Linked DNA regions of Homo sapiens: region 2 is linked to region 1. The links are contacts of gene promoters, found by promoter capture Hi-C in blood cells and fetal thymus (Javierre and others, 2016). All regions are on one chromosome and are shown on one strand. The core of a region is centred on a gene start or on the middle of the fragment in contact, and the rest is flanking DNA. Distances in the headings are between cores, read along the strand shown. Region 1 holds the start of FAM47E (family with sequence similarity 47 member E). Region 2 has its middle 45 kb from the start of CCNG2.

What was found. Contacts are between HindIII fragments. The CHiCAGO score rates a contact against its expected background, and 5 or more counts as called.
Region 2: a fragment that was not itself captured here is called in contact with the fragment with the promoter of FAM47E in region 1 in 1 of 17 cell types (total CD4 T cells); the score reaches 5.6 in total CD4 T cells.

What each region holds. Positions count from the first base shown.
Region 1 is chr4:76,249,350-76,254,438 of GRCh38, reverse strand. FAM47E (family with sequence similarity 47 member E) reads right to left here and starts at 2,718. Exons shown (of 8, transcript NM_001136570.3): 1 at 2,619-2,718. The coding sequence starts at 2,692. FAM47E-STBD1 (FAM47E-STBD1 readthrough) reads right to left here and starts at 2,718. Exons shown (of 7, transcript NM_001242939.2): 1 at 2,619-2,718. The coding sequence starts at 2,692. It overlaps LOC105377286 (a long non-coding RNA gene), which reads left to right and starts at 2,762. Exons shown (of 3, transcript XR_938897.4): 1 at 2,762-3,331. The HindIII fragment of the contact is 1,725 bases long and covers 1,730-3,454 here.
Region 2 is chr4:77,199,645-77,205,313 of GRCh38, reverse strand. No RefSeq gene overlaps it. Among named protein-coding and RNA genes, the nearest start is that of CCNG2, 45 kb to the right of the region's middle. The HindIII fragment of the contact is 228 bases long and covers 1,544-1,771 here.

The DNA of each region.
Region 1 (5,089 bases), core at 1,469-3,968:
ATGCTGAAATTACATCTAATCATAAGATTAATGACCCATTCAGCATTACTTATTAGTAAGTAACCCTCCATATTAAATGTCTTTACAAAGTTCATTATATGCACATTTACAACTAACTCATGCATCCAAGCACTTCATGAAATCAAATCTGAGAACAAATATTTTTGTTTAAGTACAGCCATACAACTCAAAATGGGGAATGTACGTGGCAGTGAGCTGAAACTTCATAGAATGTTAGAACTGGCAGAGATCCTAAAAGAAATCCAGTCTACTTTCTTCACTTTTCTTTTTCTGTTTTTTTTTTTTTTTTCAAGACAGGGTCTCACTCTGTTGCTCAAGCTAGGGTACAGTGGCAATTATAGCTCAATAGCTCACTGCAGCCTCAAACTCCTGGGCTCAAGGGATCCTCCAATCTCAGTCCCCCAAGTAGTTGGGACTACAGGTGTGCGGCACCATGCCTAGCTAAATTTTTAAATTGCTTTTGTAGAGAGAGGAGACAGGGTCTTGCTATGTTGCCCAGGCTGGTCTCAAACTTCGGGTTCAAGTGATCCTCCTGCCTCCGCTTCCCAAAGTGTTGGGATTACAGGCGCGAGCCACTTTCCTCATTTCTTTCCTTTCTTTTTTTTTTTTAATTCGAGACAGGGTTCCACTCTGTTACCCAGGCTGGAGTGCAATGGTGTAATCTTGGCTCACTGCAACCTCTGCCTCTCAGACTCAAGTAATCCCTCCACCTCAGCCTCTTGAGTAGCTGGGACTACAGGCATGTGCCACCATGCCTGGCTACCGCTTTCCTCTTTTTAATAAGGAAACTAAGTTCCAAGAGGAGAGTAAGGCAACCAGTGTAAAGGGAGGGCTTTCCTCTCCCCCACATGGCCTCTCATAGTTAATAAGCTTACCATTCTGCATTATGTTAGGTTCAGGAAAAATCTTGCTTGGCCCATAAAATAAAACTGGAAACAATTTTTCTAAATATTTACTGTTTTCACAGACACTAGTACATGATATATGGATATTTCCCTCTTTAAGAATTGCAAAAGGATACCGGACATGTATCCTAAAGAAATGAAAAAGTATGTTCTCAGAAAATTCTGTACACAAATGTCGATAGCAGCTTTCTACATATTAGCCCCAAAACTGGAATGTCCAAAACAACCTGAATGTCCTTCAACAAGTGAATGGATAAACAAACTGTGGTACATCCACACCAAGGAACACGACTCAGCAACAAAAATGAACTACTGATACACACAACTTGGATGGATCTCAGAGGCTTTATGATGAGTGAAAAAGAGCCAGTCTCAAACAGTTACATACTGTATTATTCTGTTTATCTAACATTCTCAAAAGAACTAACTTACAGAAATGGAGAGCAGCTTAGCGATTGACAAGGCTGGGGTGGGAAAAGAAGTGACAGCAAAGGGGTAATACTAAGAGTTCCTCTGTGGGGAAGGAACAGTTTTGTATCTTTATGTATACATATGACCAAATGTTACAGAACTCACACACCTGAGTGCAAGTAAGAGCTGATAAAATCCAAGTAAGGTCTCTAGTTCAATTAGCATATTCTGCCAATGACGTTTCCTGGTTTGGCAATGTGCTATCGTTATGTAAAATGGTACCACTGTAAGCAGCTAGGGGAAGGGTACATGGGACCTCTGTACTATTTCTGCAACTTCTGGTGAGCCTACAGTTATTTCAAAACAAAATTTTTAAATGGGGGGGAGAAGCTTCCCAAAGAAGCTCTTATGAATAACTGCTAGAAACAACTATGAATAATTGCTAACATGTACACGATACGTTCTATGTGCCAGTGACAACTTTACATGTGCTATCTCCATTAATCCTCACGACAATCTTAGAAAGCTGATTCCTAAGTTATTGCCCCATTTTATAGTTAGGAAAGTGAGCCCAGAAGGAGCAACCAACTTGCCTAAGGTCACCAGGCAAACAAGAGGAGAACTAGCCTTCTACTCAAGCCTTTCTGATTCTAGACTTTGGAATCTTCACCACCACATCGTGCTGTCTCCAAGACAGACGAATTCCATTCTCAAAAGATTGTCAAGGAGTCGGTAAAGGCAAAAACCTTCTTGTTCCTGCTCTGAGGCTACCACAACCGTACAAAATGTTAGCAGACCTCCCTAGCACCCCAGGCGCTCCCCCAACCCTGGGCTCCACTTGGCCACAGCCGCCATCTGGATACCAAAGGCTCCAGGGGCAGCAGATGCCTAACATCGGATACAGGGCTCCAGGCGCCCCGGGGCATCTGGCGAACAGTTGGTTGGCTAGGCCGGAAAAGGGTGGGTGGCTAGCAGGAGGGCACCAGCCTCCGCAGCGGACTCTGCGGCCATCACTTTCCCATCAGAAATGGGGATATTAGTCTACATCCCTGGGGGCGTGGGAGGCGGGGGTTGTGAGGATGACAGCAGGAAAAATCCTTTGCAAAGAGCAGCGCCAAGCGTTGGTTATCTCAGCGTATTATGTTGTACGTACAGGAAGCATTGAGGAGGGAAGGCAGGCTGGACCTCTCCCCTCGCCCCCGCCCCAGCAAGCGCGGGTCTCCAGGCGCCCCCGCGCGGCCCGCGTGGGATGCGCCCTCGGCCCGGGCGCTGAGTGTTTACCTGGACCTGCAGTTCACGCCCTCGCGCACCGGGGCCAACGTCCCCGGCCGGAGCCGCCGCCTGCGGTCCGCCATGGTGGCCCTAGCTTCGCGGCCACCGTCCGGGCTTGGGCGGTGTGTGTGCCCTGCTGCCGCCCCGTTGCTAGGACACCGCACAACCACCGCTGCCGGTATTTGCCCCGGGCGCCTGGCAACTCTGACGCCCCGCTGCGCGGTCCAACCCCTTCTCCGACGCCTGGGGACGTGGACCTGGCCGAGGGAAGGGAGAGGGTACCGGTCCTTGGTGTAATCACGTTTTACTCTGCTGGGAAGGCGTGTTCATCTTCCCACCGAAACGCGCCATAGACTGGATCAGGCGTTTTTTGCTCATCATCGTTTCAAAAAACGTTTACTGAAGGAAAGAAAGGAAGAAGGCAGGAGGAGCGATAAAGAGATAGCAAGAGAAAGAGGATGGAAAGTGGGGAAAATGAATAGATTTCTAAAGGTTGGGAAAGCCTTTTAGCAGGGAGATGTTTTCCTGGAGGTCTTGGAACTCTCTTGGTCTCACAGCCTCTGTAAACCGAGGGCTGCACACCTGTCTCTAGTCCCCAGCTGATTTCCAGAGGCCCTTCCAGCTCCTGTGTTGATTCTTCTGCCTCGACTCACTTCTAGCAGACAAGTACCATCCAGCTGACCCTGGTAGGCACGTGGCCACATAATACGGATTGCACGAGGGTGTGTTTCGTTTTTACTAAATTCTTATGCTACTTCTGAGTGTTTCTGATTTAAATATAAGCATTGGTTCTGCTACTTAATAATTATGCACTCCTGGGGGCAGGGTACTTACATTTTTAAGCTTCATTAATTACCTGGCCTGAAAATGGGGAAAATAATAGTATCTACCTGTAGGGTTATTGGGGATATTCGATGAATATAAAGAAATTAACACAGTGCCAGCATTTAAGAATCCCTCAAGAATTATTATTATGCAAGTACTATTATTCCAGCTGTGAACCGGGGGTGGTAATATTTGTCCTGACTACTTAACAGAGCTGTTGTGAGTTAGTTAATGGAGAAAGCTATGTAGGTAATCATTATAATTAGCCCAATTGTTATTTTTATTTTCTTTGATATTAGTCCGATTGTAATGCAAACTTTTTATTACTTTGAGGAGGTAGGGTTTCTGTAGAAATTCTGTGAGAACTGGGCCAAAAGTATGGTTATCTAGGCTGAATGGAGTCCTGCAGGAATGATTTGTAACAATTTGCCCAAACAATGCTTGATTAAACTAAAAAGCTTCTACACAGCAAAAGAAATAATCAGCAGAGTAAACAGCCCACAGAGTGGGAAAAATCTTTGCAATCTATATATCCAACAAAGGACTAATATTCAGAATCTACAAGGAACTCAAACAAGCCAGCAAGAAAAAAACAAGCAATCCCATCAACAAATGGGCTAAGGACATGAATAGACAATTCTCAAAAGAAGATATAAAAATGGTGAACAAACATATGAAAAAAGGCTAGATATCACTAATTATAAGGGAAATGCAAATCAAAACCACAATGTAATACCACCTTACTCCAGCAAAACTGGCCATAATCAAAAAATTTAAAAAATTAGATGTTGGTGTGGATGTGGGGAAAAGAGAACACTTTTACGCTGCTGGTGGGAATGTAAACTAGTAAAACCACTATGGAAAACAGTGTGGAGATTCCTTAAAGAACTAAAAGTGGATCTACCATTTCATCCAGCAGTCCCACTACCTGGGTATCTACCCAGAGGAAGAAAAGTCATTATACAAAAAAGATACTTGCACACACATGTTAATAGCAGCACAATTTGCAGTTGCAAAACTATGGAACCAGCCCAAATGCCCATCAATCGATGAGTGGATAGAGAAATTGTGGTATATATGTGTATATATACACATATATATAATGGAATAACATTCAGCCATAAAAAGGAATGAAATAATGGCATTAGTAGCAACTTGGATGGAACTGGAGACCATTATTCTAACTGAAGTAACTAAGGAATGGAAAACCAAACATTGTACATTCTCACTCATAAGTAGGAGCTAAGCTATGGGGATGCAAAGGTGTAAGAATGATAAAATGGACTTTGGGAACTTGGGGGGAAGGATAGGACGGGGACAAGAGATAAAAGACTACACATTGGGTACAGGGTACACTGCTTGGGTGATGGGTGCACCAAAATCTCAGAAATTGCCACTGGAGAACTTACTCATGTAACCAAAAAAAAAATAAATAAATAAACAAATAACGGATGCCCAGAAATATTCTGAAGGAGGCATTTTACCGGAATCTCCAAAGGTTGTGACAAAAAGAAGAAAAAGCTGACTACAATTTATATATCAGCAAGCAAGAGGTAGAGTTTCCTAAGATGGCTTTCTATATATTTTCTACAGCTGCAATAATCCTTTTAAAAATATTTAGCAAAATAATATGTTGGCAAATTATCACTCTTAAA
Region 2 (5,669 bases), core at 408-2,907, 950 kb before region 1:
TACCATTCACCTCACTTTCCCCATGGGGTTCTGAAAGTAATTGGGAACTACACCTGAAATCAAGATCAGACAAGCTTTGTTTCACTGAATCAGAGGACCAAAGCTGGAAGTGGGCCCCCGAACTAGGCTGAGCAAGTCTTCTACCATTGAGTAACGTAAGCCCACTCAGTGAGCAATCCTTCCATATACATTCATGAAGTAAAACAAGTACCATAAAACTCATGAGGGCAGTTCTCTCTAGAAGGGTTAACTACATATGTGCCATGAGTTGTTCCTAGTCTCATTAACCCATCCAGGTTCTTTTCCCTTGGGTAATATTGAAGAGATAGAGAAAAGCAGAGACTAGATAACTTAAGTGTTTCAAAAATAGAAGTTACATAACTTCACATGGTATAAATCAGTAGTTGATATTGCACATCTACAAGACATACCTTTTGAATTAGAACATTGGATTTTGCTTTCCATCAAAAGATTTATGTATAGGAAAAATTCACATCTGGAATCCATTTGCTTTTCAGGAAGATAACTGTAGCCTTCTAAGATAAGCCATTGTAACTAGATGGTGATGAAGGATTAGAGATGAGTTTAAAATAAAGCATTACTTCATTTTAAAAGTTAAATATACCCCAATTCTGCTACAATAGCTTTAAATTCTTCTGTTCTGGTCAACATACTTCTGAGGGATGTGAGATTGGCCTCTGCTGTGAAAGCTATTAAAACAAAGCCTTTTGGTTGTTTTCCTCTGAGTAGCATTGCTATCACTCCAACCTAGATTCAGTAGGTTAAACAAGCTTATTTGTCACATGAAGAACTCAGTACATTAAGCACTATATGCACAATAGTCATTCTGTACAAGAACATTAACATGTACCTCAGTTACCTCTAGATAACTATCATTGTACATTTGTAGTCGTCACCTGTCACCTGTATGTTCTTCCAACGAACCATGTATTTCTTCCCCTTTGTTTGCTAGGGTGTGGGTTTAACAAAATTTGGCATTTTCTATTTATTGTGTTTTACAAAGTATTGGTCCATGGCAGATCAGAACCAAATGGGTCCTTTAGGTAGTCTCAAAAGCTAGTCGGGGTCATTTTAACTTTAACTGTAGTTGAGACCTATTAACTCACTAGAAGATCAGCCATTTCTAGGCACTAGGCTAAGGTCCTAAGCCTTCCATCCAAGCACAAGAAGGTGTTTAGGGAAACAGGTTTCTCAAAACCAGCTCAAGATTTGCAGCTATGTTTATTCTCATATACCTTGAGCAAATGAGAACAAAGCAATTAGCCTTGTGTGGAAGGAATGGAGGGATTGTGTTGATAATGCCAACCCTAGAAGCCATCTTAGGAGAAGAGGCAAGAGGCCCAAACAATGAAGCAAGGGTGAAGCAAAAGCTGCCAGAGAGGACCTAACGGGGCCTGCCCTCATGTTTGGAGCCTTGGACTGTTTCAGGAATTAGACACACGGGGTCTTGCCACTTTGAAGCATGGGGCACAACCAGTTTTAAACTGCCATCAACAGGGGGCGCTTAGTAACCATAAAAGCTTGACTGAGTTGCAAAGCCATGACTTTGCTAACTCTTGAAAAGTGAGCTGGACGTAAGGATGCTCCCCGTTTGGAGTGAATGCTTTACCACAGCAGCATAGACACCGTTGAAACATTTACTCAGAGTCGAGTAGAGTAAGCTACTTGGTCTCAATTTCATACTGTCTTCAAGAGCACAGGTGAGCCATGGCTATCTGCTATGCTGGTTAGACATGCAGTCATGTAAGCTTTTCTTAGGACCAGTTCAGCATAGTTGTGGAACTTTGTCACATTGGAAGGCCTCATGACCCCAGTTTGAGGGGTTTCTCCCATCGAGACCCATTATCCCAAGGGCTCTCTCCCAGAGTCCCTGCTGCTGCTAGGGACACAGTCACAGGACTTAGCCTCTAGCAATCAGAGACACCAGGACTATTTCAGAAAGGAACAAGGAGTCAGTAGGTGGAACCATTTTAGAGTAGGGCAGCTACTTAATTTGGTGGGTTTAATGTGGAGGAATTGGTGAGCATATGAGACCAGAGCAAATCAATCAACTCCTGCTACACTGAGTTCTGGACATTATCTCATGTTTTACTCACTCGTTTATAACCTGAAAGCAAGGAAAAACTTGTTACAAGAATAAAACAAAAGCTACATGTTTAGAAGGGCCCAAGTTTACCAAGATTGCCCAACAACCCTGTTTTTCTAGCTTCTCTCCCCTCTGCGAAATTTGGGAGTTGGAAAGATACATCAGAAGTCAGTGATAAGTTTAGAGACATGGTTCTACCATAGTCTAACTCAGCCAAGCCTTATCTTTCTAGTATTAGGACTAAGACATTTGGGATTCACGAAGGGTTGAGATTTACCAGAAAAAAAGCCATGGGGTTAAATAAATGAAAGATACTATAACAAGGAAATAAAGTCAATAAAGGCAACAGCTGGAATGAGAAAGTCTGTGGGTTGGAGATTTGTGTCAAGAGAAGTAGTCTTAACAGGCCTGAAGTGGAATGACTTGAACAAGAGACTTGAACAAGCTGGAGAGGAAGACGGGGTGAGTGAGACAAAACTGGGTTGTTTAGGACAAAGTACAAGGTGTTAACCACCTATTCATGAGGAATTCCAGTAGGAAGCAGTTGACAGGAAGGTGAGTCAGGGGATGGGGAAGGTGTTTTCACAACCATACTAACACCTCTTCTTGCAGAACTAGTTATCTGGCTGTGGACCCAAACCTGGGGTTCAGGTCCCAATACACTTTGTATAAGGAAGACCTTGTGCAGGTTTAGCTTCAGATTATCATATAGGTGATAACCACCAAGGACAGAGTAGTTGAGATGTCATATTCCTGGCAGATCCGGCCCATAAATGCTTTCTCAGGTATGTCAGGTTAAATAGAAACTGATTATGGTAACACCTCCAAATAAGATTTCTATCAGTTCTGGTTTGTCAGGTGACATACTAATTGCCTCACTAATCAGACAAGTATTGTTACGCTAGTCTAGATTTTTACTGTTAACAGGAAGGTATATGAATACATTGCTTGTATAAAACAAGCAGTCCTTAACTGGTTTTATTAAGGCACTCCCGAGAGATGTTAGGTGCAGTTAAGCCACAGGCCAAGAGAAAAGGGAGAAAAAAAGAACAGCAAGATATGCTGTAAATTATGACAGATTTACTCCACCCTTTTTATGTCTATTTGGTCATTTAGTCATAGACAATCAAGTACATGACTAAGCTCAGGACATTTAACCCATTACACCCTGCCACACCAAAAGCTTTTCATAGAAGCCCCATGTTACCCACCACGTTGACATTTGAGTCAGTGTACTCAAGAGCCAGGTAAGCACAGGGAAACAATCATTTCCTGTAGCATGAGTGGTCTTAAGACATCTAGCTTCCTGTTGAGCAAGGTAAGAATGACATCCACCCGACTATTTGATTTTAGAGGTTTAGCTTATTGATCCGAGTTATACCTGACCCTTAACCATAAAGCATTAAAGTGAGACGTTTGTTCTCAAGGCAAGCTATAGCAAGTCACTGTAAGAGGAGTAGTATATGGAAAGACTTCAAAACAACCTAAAGTGAACAATTTCCTAGGTTTGAGAGATTGTGAGGGTGACACTGAGCCTCAGTTTTTCTCTATAAAATAAAACCCTGAGGTAGTTACTCCTATAAGTGAACCAATATGAGAGCATTCAGAACAATGGCATGAAGTCAAGTCTGGGTGACTCTTGTACATACTATTCCTTGTCCACATTCATAGGTATTTTGCAAGTTGAGTCATGACTGGTCTGTTCATAGTCACCATGGTCCTATACATTCATGAATCAGTATGTATATGGTCTTAAATGCCTGCGACATTAAGAGGAAATCAGCTCACTACCCAACAACCTTAAAGCAAAGCAGTAAGAATTAAGGATAGGGAAATAGAACCTTAAAAGATGACAAGAGGTGGGTGGGAAGTGGTATAAGATTAGGCAAAAGTAACTAGTATGAACATGAAAATAGAACCAGAATGCTGAGAGAACCCAAAGAGATGGCTATATATGGAACCAGAGTGTTCTTAAAAATCCACCCCAAATTGACCAGAAGCATGGTAACTGGAAGTGACGTGAAACCACCTAGTAGAAATTTGAGCAGAAACTGCACAGCAGTGGGGAATTCACTATGAAGTATACCAATAAGTGTGGCTTCCTCAACCTGTAGAGGCTGTGTTGGTTCAAAACAATGTTGCATAGGTTTGGGGATACCCATGGCATTGTTTATAGTTCTACTTCCAAGTTCATCTGGGAATGTGTCTCATCTATTGATCTGACAAGTCTTTCTCAACCCTGTGAGAGGTATAGAAATCTTTGAAAGACATGCTAAAGATACCCAGCTCCTACAAATGGTGGGGGTGGGTGGAGAATAGAATAGCAAGCAACAGCTAGCATTTGTGAGAACTCTGATTTCTTATGAGCTAACAGATCTATTAGTTCAAATTGTACATGTCCCCATATAACTAGGGACATGCCTACTACCAGTAAAGTTGACAAAATGCAGTCAATCCACTTAGTACCTGATCATAAGCAAAAAACTTTAAAATGCAATTCCACGTGTTGAAATTTAAGACATCAAGAAAGCCCCTCTGAATCATGGTTGTGACTGAGTATCTACTGGAAGAAGCTTCTATCACCAGGGAGGGTCTTTACCTATGCACTCAAATCCTATGGAGTCTTGGACAAAGCAAAATAGTCACTGAAATATTACACGGCAGGTGACAAACTGACAGCTGGGAGTTCAGCATGTTTCTCTCAGCCTAAGTCAAATGGACACCAGCGAGTTTTCCCGTGCATTGGGTCCTTTGCTGTTGCTAGGCTTTATTTCCGTCAAGACTGATTCATTATTCAAGGGCAGTTACAGGTGTATGTGTACAATAATTATCTTCCATTAGGTCACATGTCTGGCCAGTCTCAAGCTCATCTTTGGTCAAACTGTTCATGTCGCATTAGCTCAAGACCAGGATGGACATATGCAGACTCATCCTAGACAAGTGCTTTTTATGCTGGAGTAATAGCCAAAGTTTAGCTTGGGTGAAACATTGGATGCCTTTGCTGCTGAGTCGAGGGAATCACTGGTTTTTATTCTGAGACAAACTTTCCAAATACTCCTTGGTAAGTGAAATATGGGCAAGTTCTGCCTAAGAGAACAGTAACTAAGATCAAGTTGAGAAGACAGTTGTAGGAAGGACTGCTCCAATTACCATAAAGTGTTAGTTGCCTCCCCAACAGGCTAACTTGCTGGTAGAGGCTCACACAAGGTGAGGGAAACAACTCTTCCATCACACTCAAATCCAAGTGACAAGATAGCCAAGTCTGTTATACAAGCTAATTGGTTAAAGCAGAACACTTGCCAGAGGAGCTCAAGTATTTGGCTCACTTAAATGTCATACACAACAAAGCCAGACAGTGTTTGAGATTCTTCATTACCCTCAGTATCAGTCACAAATAATCTAGCATCATACAGAGAAAGCAGTGAGGGGAAGAGCACAGGAGCTTCCAGGTAATGGCCCTAGTTAACTCCGGGCCTCAAGTGGGTTCATAAACAAGTTGGTCCATGTTCTGGTTAGTATTTTTGTCAACTGCCCCCAAATCCAAGGGAACTGCTTCAGCACA